2 separate regions of the Homo sapiens genome follow, and region 2 is linked to region 1. The links are contacts of gene promoters, found by promoter capture Hi-C in blood cells and fetal thymus (Javierre and others, 2016). All regions are on one chromosome and are shown on one strand. The core of a region is centred on a gene start or on the middle of the fragment in contact, and the rest is flanking DNA. Distances in the headings are between cores, read along the strand shown. Region 1 holds the start of RTL5 (retrotransposon Gag like 5). Region 2 overlaps FTX (FTX transcript, XIST regulator).

The links. The method cuts DNA at HindIII sites, captures the fragments that hold promoters and counts their contacts. A CHiCAGO score of 5 or more calls a contact.
Region 2: a fragment that was not itself captured here is called in contact with the fragment with the promoter of RTL5 in region 1 in 1 of 17 cell types (total B cells); the score reaches 5.0 in total B cells.

What each region holds. Positions count from the first base shown.
Region 1 is chrX:72,130,647-72,134,327 of GRCh38, forward strand. RTL5 (retrotransposon Gag like 5) reads right to left here and starts at 1,269. Exons shown (of 1, transcript NM_001405151.1): 1 at 1-1,269. The coding sequence starts at 894. NHSL2 (NHS like 2) reads left to right here. Exons shown (of 8, transcript NM_001013627.3): 2 at 1,433-1,588; 3 at 3,445-3,572. RefSeq lists silencers at 1,060-1,129, 1,290-1,349. The HindIII fragment of the contact is 11,603 bases long and covers 1-3,681 here.
Region 2 is chrX:74,128,770-74,134,723 of GRCh38, forward strand. The region is part of intron 5 of FTX (FTX transcript, XIST regulator); the gene reads right to left. It also overlaps the pseudogene DDX3P1 and the pseudogene DDX3P2. Among named protein-coding and RNA genes, the nearest start is that of MIR421, 87 kb to the right of the region's middle. The HindIII fragment of the contact is 973 bases long and covers 1,949-2,921 here.

The sequences.
Region 1 (3,681 bases), core at 19-2,518:
ATCCAGGTCGGCCATTTCTGTTGACCATAAGAGCTCTTTGCGGAAGAATTCCGACAGGCCTTTGAGGAATTGGTTTTGGAGGCGGCAGTCATCCCAAGACAAGAATTGGGCCAGGAACTGAAAAGCATCTGCATAGCTGCCGAGGGTACAGTGGCCCTGCTTGAGCTTGCGAATGGCCTTTTTAGCCACACGTGGGGGGATGGGGCCACAGAATTCCTTACGGATTTCATCCAGGAAGCGCGGGAAGTTGGCATGCAAGGGGCTTCCTTCCTGGGTGACCGAGATGGCCCAGTCCTTGGCTTCGCCAGTGAAAAAGGAGATCAGAAAGGCCACCCGCTCGGCGCCCCCGGGGAAATGAACCTCATGGTCGGCTATGAAGGTCTCTAGCTGCATCAGGAATTCAGCCAGGTAGACTGGGTCTCCTGAAAAGGGCTCTATCTCAGGCCGCTCCAGCGGTGCCAGAGGGGGTTGCGGGGGCGGTTCCTTTGACGCGGGCGGAGGCAGCGCCGGCGGGGGCGGGATGGGCAGCAGAGGGGGGTCAGCGGGCCCGTCGGGGGTGCTGCGATCCTGGATCACGTTAATCAAAAGATCATCCGAGATACAGTCGGGCTCCGCGCGTGGGGGAGGCCGGCACAAGAAGGGCAGTTCTCCCCCGGGAATGACTTCGATCTCACTGAGCGCGAACTCCAAGTTCTCCTCCGCAAGGACGGGCACTATGGGTACTGGCCAGCGGATGTAGCTGGAGACATTGCCCCGCAAGGAATTAACCTCGGCCAGGGCTCTCCCGAGCTGGAGGCCCAAATTGGCATTCTCCCCGCGAAGGGCATTTAATTCTTCGCGCAGGGCCACATTCGCCATGCGGAGGCTGTTGAGATTTCCTGACGCCTCAGACATCTCGACAAGCCCAGGGGCCCTGGGGCTCCGTGGTGGGGAAAGGGGAACTGGAACTACGGGCGGCCGGAGGAGGCCGAAATGCGGCGGCGGGGCTCGGGAGGGACCGAAGTGCGGCAGCGGGGCACGGGCCAGGCCGGGCCACACCCACCGGGGCGAGCTCGGAGGGCGGCGCTCTGGGCGGAGGGCCCGGCGGCTCGGCCCAGGGCGCGTTACCTCGTCGCCGGGGCCGGAGAGGGCGGGCGGAGGCACGGGGCCCGGAGGCGCCAGGCGGAGGATGCGGGCGACACGGTGGCGGCGGCGACCGCGCGACCGGGCGGGCGGGCGGGCAGGGGCGAGCGGAGCGGGAGGGAGCGGACTGCGGCAGGATCTGTCGAGGAAAAATCTTGCGGCCGGCGATTCCCCGCCTTTTAAGCGCAGCCTCGCACTCCCCCCACCCCACGCAGGGGCGGGCCTTGGGGAACCGCGGGCGCCCACTGGCCGCCGCGCGCCGCTCCCCTCCAGCTCGCCTGCGCCTCTCACTGACTCTCTCCTTCCCTAGCTGCAGCTAACTCGGGTCGGGAAAATGCGACAGCGACTGCCCACTCGAGGTCGTCATGGCGACAGCCAGTGAACGTGTTCCTCTCCTCGGGCAGGCCCCCGAGTGTAGAGGAGCTGCTTCGGGAGGCGCAGCTCAATCTCCAGAGCCTGTTGCAAGGTACCGAGAGGGAGGGGGGCTGCGGCCGGAGCCCAGAAGCGAGATGCGCAGCGGCAGGAGGGAGGCAAAGAAGAAAGAGGACAGGGACCAGCAAGATAAAGACAGAGAGTTTAAAAACAATCGACAAAGCAGTTTCCAGCTTTCACCTTTCAGCCTAATGATTCTGAAAGAGGCTATTTCCAGGGCTGTTTCCCCCCATCCCCAGCCCCTTTTTTCAGCTCAGTAGCCCATGGGGAAACAAGGACAGAGACTGAGGCAGGGCCATAAGTTATGCCATTCACCGAGAGCTGGGTGGGAGACTCCCACAATGTGGGCCTACATTCCCTCCAGCCCCCCTCTTGCCACATCGCCCATGCCTTTGGGATCCTGGCACCAGAAGACAAAGGGGGCATCTGCAGGATCTCCCACTCTGGGCTTCACTCACTCTGCTCTTGCAATAACCCCTGGATAGCTACTGCCTCACCAAAGTAAGCCCAATACACAGCACCCAGAGGTCACCTATTTTGTCCCCCCTAACCAAGCCTGAGCTTCTCGATGTAAAGAATCACATCTTGCTACCCTTAGGTTTCCAGAAGCACCTGGCACAAGGCTGGATTCCCTCCCCACCTGCCAAGAGGTGCTCAGTGGATGTTGAGCATGAAAAGAGGTCTTGTCAGCACTCCTTTATCTATACTAATAAAGGTTAACTCTAATGGCGAATAGAAAACTGCTGATGGGCCACCAACAGGATGACAGCCATAACCCCCACCCCCTACCAGGGCAGTGGTGACCTTGGAAAAGCAAGATGCCAAGGGACACCATGAGCCTTGTGTTCAGATAACAAAGGACTTGCCACACAGAAAAAGAGTCGATGTGCTCTGTGTTGCTACCATGGCAGAATTAGGACCAGTGGGTGGAAACCCAGAAGGAGGCACATTCCACCTCCAGATAAGGAAGAACTTTCTGACACACCTGACAGCCCCAACTGTCCGTGGAAGAAATGAGCTGCCTTGGGAGGGAGGGAGCTCCCCTTCCCTGCAGGTGTGTGCGCTGAGGCTGAAGAAACACCTAGAAGGGCTGCTGAGGAGGGAGTCTGGGCACAGAATGAGGCGTTGGACCAAAGAACCCCAAGAGCAACCCCAAATCTCTGTGATTCTGAGTCTTTGTTCAGTGTACATACAGCATGAATGTCCCTTCTCTACTCTCACTTTCTTCATGTATTCTCATCAAATTCATCACTTCAATCAACCCTATTCAAATCTTGTGCATCCTTACTCACTGATGATGCCGCTGAACTTCTGCCTCTTTTATGCTGTTACCTCCTCCTTCCCTCTCCTTCACCTTAGCCCTCCTAGACCTGACATCACTTACAGCGGGACTAAGGTGCAGGGAACACGGCCCACAAAGGCTCAAGTAAAAGTTCTTGACATCCAAGAAAGAACTCCAGATTGGACTTCCTGGTGTAAATCTCTTCTTGCTTCACACAGGTCATTTCCTTGGTAGGGTCGCAGAAAACCTTAAGAGCTGCAGGGCTTCAAAGAGAGGAACTTGCAGTCCAAAGTAGCAAAAGGTGTCTGCATTCTGAGCCTCTTTTCGTAACTGAGCACTCAAGGTGGGGATCATTGAGATAAGGGCTTGGTCCCCAAACCACCACAGCATGAATTTATTGACTTTCTCTTCTCCTCGATCCTCATGGTCCTGGGAAGCAAGCACTTTTCCATTTCCAAATCCAGTGGCTCAAACACCTGGAAATAGCCTAAAGAAAATGCAAGTCAGGCCTGGCAGCTAGAGCAGGAGTCCTGGCTCATGGCCCTTCCCCGGCCCAGCGCTCGGCCATGGCACCCTAGAGTGTGTGTCTCCACTGTGCTATTTTTCAGAAGAATATGAGGAACAGTACTCGGAGGCCAGACTTGTGGGGCAGACCTTCCGCTCTTCTGATGAGGCCACTAAGCCCACCCCCAACCCAAGGCCCCAGTCTGCCAGGCGTCTGGAGTTTATATTGATGGTGAGTTGCCTCATCCCCCACCTGGGAGAGCCAGCATGCACCCACTGACAAGAGACCTCCAGCTGCTTACTTTACCCACTGGAAGCTGCTCAGCCCTGCTCACCAGCAG
Region 2 (5,954 bases), core at 1,185-3,684, 2.0 Mb after region 1:
GGTATTGCCAATGGGGATCCTCTCGGGGAACTGCCCTAGTGCCCTCTTGGAGGCCTGGCTTATGAAGCCGGCAGGTGTCTGCATAGGACTGGGCTAGAGAATAAACTCTTTCTCATTTATCTGGGGAGAGGGTAGAGGTCAGGATGACATTTAAGTCACTCCAGGTTAAAGTGAAGGACTGAGTTAGATATTGGAATTCCTGTATATATTTATTGGGGTCTGATGAGAAAGAGCCAAAATGCTGACTGATTTGGGAAAGGTCTGATAGAGAAAAAGGCACATGTACCCTGACTATGCCTTCAGCTCCAGCCACCTCTCTAAGAGGAAATTGTTGGGCAGGTGGGGGAGACCTAGTCACGGAACGAAACTGTAAGCCAGACCAGGTGTGAGGAGGGAAGGTAATAGAAGGGTTATAGGGTGGGGAAGCGGAGGCTATGGAAGAATTGGGACCTGATTCAGCCTGGCAAGGAGCAGCCGGGGGAGAAGAGAGGTAAGAGGGGTCAGTGGAAAAGGAGGATTCAGAGGACTCTGAGTTTGGGGTGGAGACAAGAGGAGTGGATGGGAGAGAAAGAAGGAAAATCTGGGACAAGTGGCATTGGGAGCAGAGACTAGGGAGGGAATGAATTGTAAAAAAATGCCTGGACATAAGGCACCTCGGACCATTTGCCCATTTTTCAACAAAAATTATCTAGGTCTTGTAGGATAGACAAATCAAAAGTGCCATTCTCTAGCCACTTGGAACTATTGTCGAGTTTGTACTGGGGCCAAGCAGTATTACAGAAGAAAATAAGATGTTTAGGTTTTAGGTCAGGTGTTAGTCGAAGGGGTTTTAGGTTTTTAAGAACACAGGCTAAGGGGGAAGAGGGAGGAATGGATGGCAGAATGTTGCCCATAGTGGAGAAGGTAAGTTTAAAGAGGAAGGTAGAGACACGGAGAAATGGAGGTGGCAACTACAGGCTTCCCGTAGGCATCCCTGACTGAGTCCTGGGCTGTAATGTGGGTGAGCAGCCAAAGCAGGCATCCCCATAATTGACCTGCCACCAAGAGAATGTGGGTGAATGATCAAGACAGGTGTCCCCACGGTGATCAGACACCAAGGGAAGACTGTCTTCCCAAGTCCGTGACCAACATCGGAGTTTTTGAATGCACAGATAAAGTGTGTCTCCTTTTTGTCTCTACCAGGAAGGGAGAGAAACTGAAATTGAAAGGAGAGAGATTGAAGGGAGGCAATAGAGGTTAGGTAGAGAGCAAAAACACTGCTTACCCGAGTGCAAATAACTGCTTACCGATTTGAAATTGGTGAAATGGTCCTTGGGCTGGCTGGTCTGATGACCTGAGGTCGTAGGTGGATCTCCTCACAGAGGTAGCATGAGGACAGGGGACCAGTCTCCTGAAGGAGTTCCCCTGTCCCGGGTCTTCAGCACCAAATACTATGTGTGTCCGTATAAGAGACCACCTGAGCAGGCTTAGTGTAAGCAACAAGGCTGTTTATTCACTTGGGTGCAAGTGGGCTGAATCCAAGAAAGGAGTCAGCAAAGGGTGGTGGGATTATCATTTATTCTTATAGGTTTGGGATAGGCAGTGGAGTCAGAAGCAATTTTTTGCAGGCAGGGGATGGATGTTACAAATACATTAACAAGGGCGGGGAGGGTGTATTGTCACAAGGGCGGGGAATGTTACAAACTACCTTCACAAGGATGGGGAATATCACAAAGTACATTATCACAAGGGCGGGGGAATGTCACGATGGCTTGACCATGGTGCGGCCAGCTCAGAGGACCTTACAGAGCTTACTTACTATACTCATCCTACTCCACTGCAAAACATGCCATTCCTATTATTAGGGGAAAAAAAGAGACTTAATGTCTTGTGCCCAAGCAGGGTCTGGGAAAACTGCAGCATTTCTTTTACCCGTACTGAGTCAGATATATATAGATGGTCCAGGAAAAGCTTTGAAGGCTGTGAAGGAAAATGGAAGGTATGGATGCCATGAACAATACTCAATCTCCTGGGTTTTAGCCCCAACAAGAGAATTGGCTGTACAGATATGAGGAAGTCAGAAAATTTTCATACCAGCCTAGAGTTCATCCTTGTGTAGTTTATGGTGATGCTGATATTGGTCAGCAAATTCAGGTCTTAGAACATGGATGCCACTTGTTAGTAGCCACGCCAGGAGGTCTAGTGGATTTGATGGAAAGAGGAAAGATTGGATTAGACTTCTGCAAATACTTAGTGTTGGATGAAGCTGATAGGATGCTGGATATGGGATTTGGACCTCAGATACATCTTATACTTGAACAAGATACTATGCCACTGAAGGGCATTCATCACATCATGATGTTTAGTGCTACTTTTCCTAACGAAATACAGATGCTTGCTCGTGACTTTTTGGATGAATATATCTTTTTGGCTGTAGGAAGAGTAGGCTCTACCTCTGAGACTATCACACAGGAAGTAGTTTGGGTGGAAGAGCCAGATAAACGGTCATTTCTGCTTGATCTCTTAAATGCACCAGGGAAGGATTCACTGACTTTAGTGTTTGTGGAGACCAAAAAGGGAGAAGATTCTCTGGAGAATTTCTTATACCATGAAGTATATCCTTGTACTAGTATTCATGGAGACCAATCACAGAGAGATCGAGAAGGAGGCCCTTCATCAGTTTTGCTTGGGGAAAATCCCAATTCTAGTGGCTACAGCTGTGGCAGCATGAAGACTAGACATTTCAAATGTGAAACATGCTTCAATTTTGATTTGCCAAGTGATATTGAAGAATATGTGCCTTGTATTGGCTGTACAGGATGTGTGGGAATCCAGGGTCTTGCCACCTCATTCTTTAATTAAAGAAATATGAATATTACAAAGGATTTGTTGGATATTCTTATAGAAGCTAAACAAGAAGTGCCTGCTTGGTTGGAAAATAAAGCTTATAAACACCACTACAAGGGTGGTATTCATGCATGATCTAAAAGATTCAGTGGAGGATTTGGTGCCAGAGACTATTGACAAAGTAGTGGTTCCAGCAGTTCTGGCTTCAGTAGTAGTCATACAAGCAGCAGCTGCAGTGGTGGAGGTGGTCATGGCAGCAGCAGCAGATGTGGTGGAGGTAGCTATGGAGGCTTCTACAACAGTGATGGATGTGGAGGAAATTATAATTCTTGTTATAAGAGTTATTAAGAGCTGGGCGCGGTGGCTCACACCTGTAATCCCAGCACTTTGGGAGGCTGAGGCAGGCGGATCACGAGGTCAGGAGTTCGAGACCAGTCTGGCCAACATAGTGAAACCCCATCTCTACTAAAAATACACAAAAAATTAGCCAGGCGTGGTGTTGTGCACCTGTAATCCCAGCTATTTGGGAGGCTGAGGCAGGAGAATCACGTGAACCCAGGAGGCGGAGGTTGCAGTGAGCCGAGATCGTGCCACTGCACTCCAGCCTGGGTGACAGAACAAGACTCTGTCTCAAAAAAAAAAAAAAAAAAAAAAAAAGAAAGAGTTATTAAGAAATTATTTTAAGCAGATAAGAAAAGGGGTCCTTGGGAAGTTCTTTTTTTTCTTTTAGAGCAACTCCAGAAACATTTCTTGTCTAGCAGGAAAGCTAGGCCAGCAAGCTTTGATATGCAAATACCGGCCATTAGAAACTGGGCCCACCCAAACATGGCAATTCCTGCAGTCTTATTCTTGCCCTGGCCTCCACATGTGCCTGGCAACACGGCCACCCCCACATATCCACACATGTGTAAAATATCATGGTGCCCTGCATTTGCATATTAAAAGGCTAGGGTGGGAGGGCCAGTTTTTTCTCAGGCTACGTGAATGACATGCTTGGTCAAACCAATCCCCTGAGCCCTATCCAAATCAGACACAAACGTCCTCCAGCCTCCTCATATAAGCAGCCACTTTTCTATCACACTTGGAGTTTTTCTCTTTGTTCGAATCCCCCTGCCTTCTGTCTCTGTACGGGGAAGCTGTTTTCTTCTTCCTTCCTTCTTTCTTGTCTATTAAACTCTCTGCTCCTTAAAACGACTCCACATGTGTCTGTGTCATTTTATCTAAATTGACACAAGACTAAGGACGCTGGTGTTCCTCCAGTCATCGGAGCCATATCATTTTGATCCATTGGCCAGGAAACTGAGGTACAGCCTTTGTTGGAGCGGTAAGTATGGGAGCGAGCTTAAAATCTGTTGCATCATTCACAAGGTGCTCTTGGCCTCTATATTAAAATAAAATTAGATAGATAAACCCAAACTACTTTCTGTGTGATATTCTCAGATGTAGAGCCTACTCTGCCTACAGCCAAAAAGATATATTCATCCAAAAAGTCATGAGTAAGCATTTGTATTTCTTTAGGAACGGGCATGCATCAGCCTAGTACATACACAGCGTTGGCTGCTGTACTAAAGACTCAGATGTGAGGCTTGCTGGTGAGAACATGGAGAACCCCCCAATACCCATGAGTACTGGGAATGTTGGCCATGTTTTGAACTAGTTTCTTTTCATCGCTTGAGGCTGGGAAAAGTTCTGAGGTAACTGAGAATTTCTGGCCAGGGGACATACTGGCATGATTCAAAGGCCTCTGGACCAGACCCAGCCTCCAATAGCCTGTTCTGGGTGTGTGGCAGAGAACCCTCAACTATACCGTTGCAAAACTCTTCTTCCTTCTCTATCTGTGGCGTCTTACTCTTTCTCTGATTGAAATGTGCAGGGATTTTTACAGCCTAGGAAAGAAATCCTGTTAGGCAAGATCAGGAAAATGCCTCTAGAAACAGTTTTCCCCATTGCTCTGCAGTGAAGTTACTTGCTACCAGGTCTCTGGCAAGCACATAGTATTTCTAAGCTAACACCGCCACCTAGTGGAAATAGGAATCCTCTACATGAGACACATTTTTTTCCTTTTTCTTTCATGGTAACACTGCAGCTTCTTTTTACACCATTAAAAATCAGGCTCTATGCTTCTTCTGGAAATGGGAATTTTCTGCCTTTAGCAGTTAGGAGTAAGATGTCTTCCGCAGCCAGATTTTAGTCCCAATATTGTCCCATCAGTAGAAAAATGGCCATTCGGGTCCTACGTTCTTTTAAGGCACCTATTATGTCTCTGATTAAAACAGTACTTAATTAGTAAGGGAAATTTAAATTCAGAAGTTAACCAGAACCACTTTTTTTAAGGGTAAGTGCTTTAGCATGGGCTGTAATAGCAGGTAATCTAGCACATTGCCTCCACTAAAGGAGCCTTGCCCAAAAGTGACACAGTCTCTTCAGAGATCTGTTTTTCAGAGAGCCAGACAAATCACACAGGTTCTAGAAAGTCAAAGGGAAATCATACAAGGCAGATAAGCTAAGGCTGCATGGGTAAGCGTGGTTGGCCCCATCACTTAGCTCATCTGGTTCCATGGCTTGGAGGACCATGCCTGCAACCATGGGGGGCATATTTAACATGGTGCCAGGATCCAGAAACCAGGGAGGGGAGACACTTGGAGGATGCTCGATGTCTTCTCCTCCACTCTGGGTCATACAGAAAGGAAGGAGACTAAGAGGAAGCTTCTATTCTCACTTCTATCCTGCCTCAGCCTCCAGAGTAGCTGGGACTAAAGGCGCCCACCACCATGCCTGGCTAATTTTTGTATTTTTGGTAGAGACGGGGTTTCACCATGTTGGCCAGGATGGTCTCGACCTCCTGACCTCGTGATCCGCCCGCCTCAGCCTCCCAAAGTGCTGGGATCACAGGTGTGAGCCACCACGCCTGACCCAAAATTTTGCAATGACAGTTTCAAAAGCTGCCTATCACCCCTTTGAAAATACCTTGTATGCTCACAATTAAGTCATAACCTAATTAAGGCTTGTTGGTTTCACCTGTGACGTTACTTTTTGTAAAGTTCAAAAGCCGAAAACCTTAAGTGCTTGGCTTGGCTAAACTCAAGTAACAAGGGAGTTCAAAGGATTTTCTTAAAGCATGCTCAGCT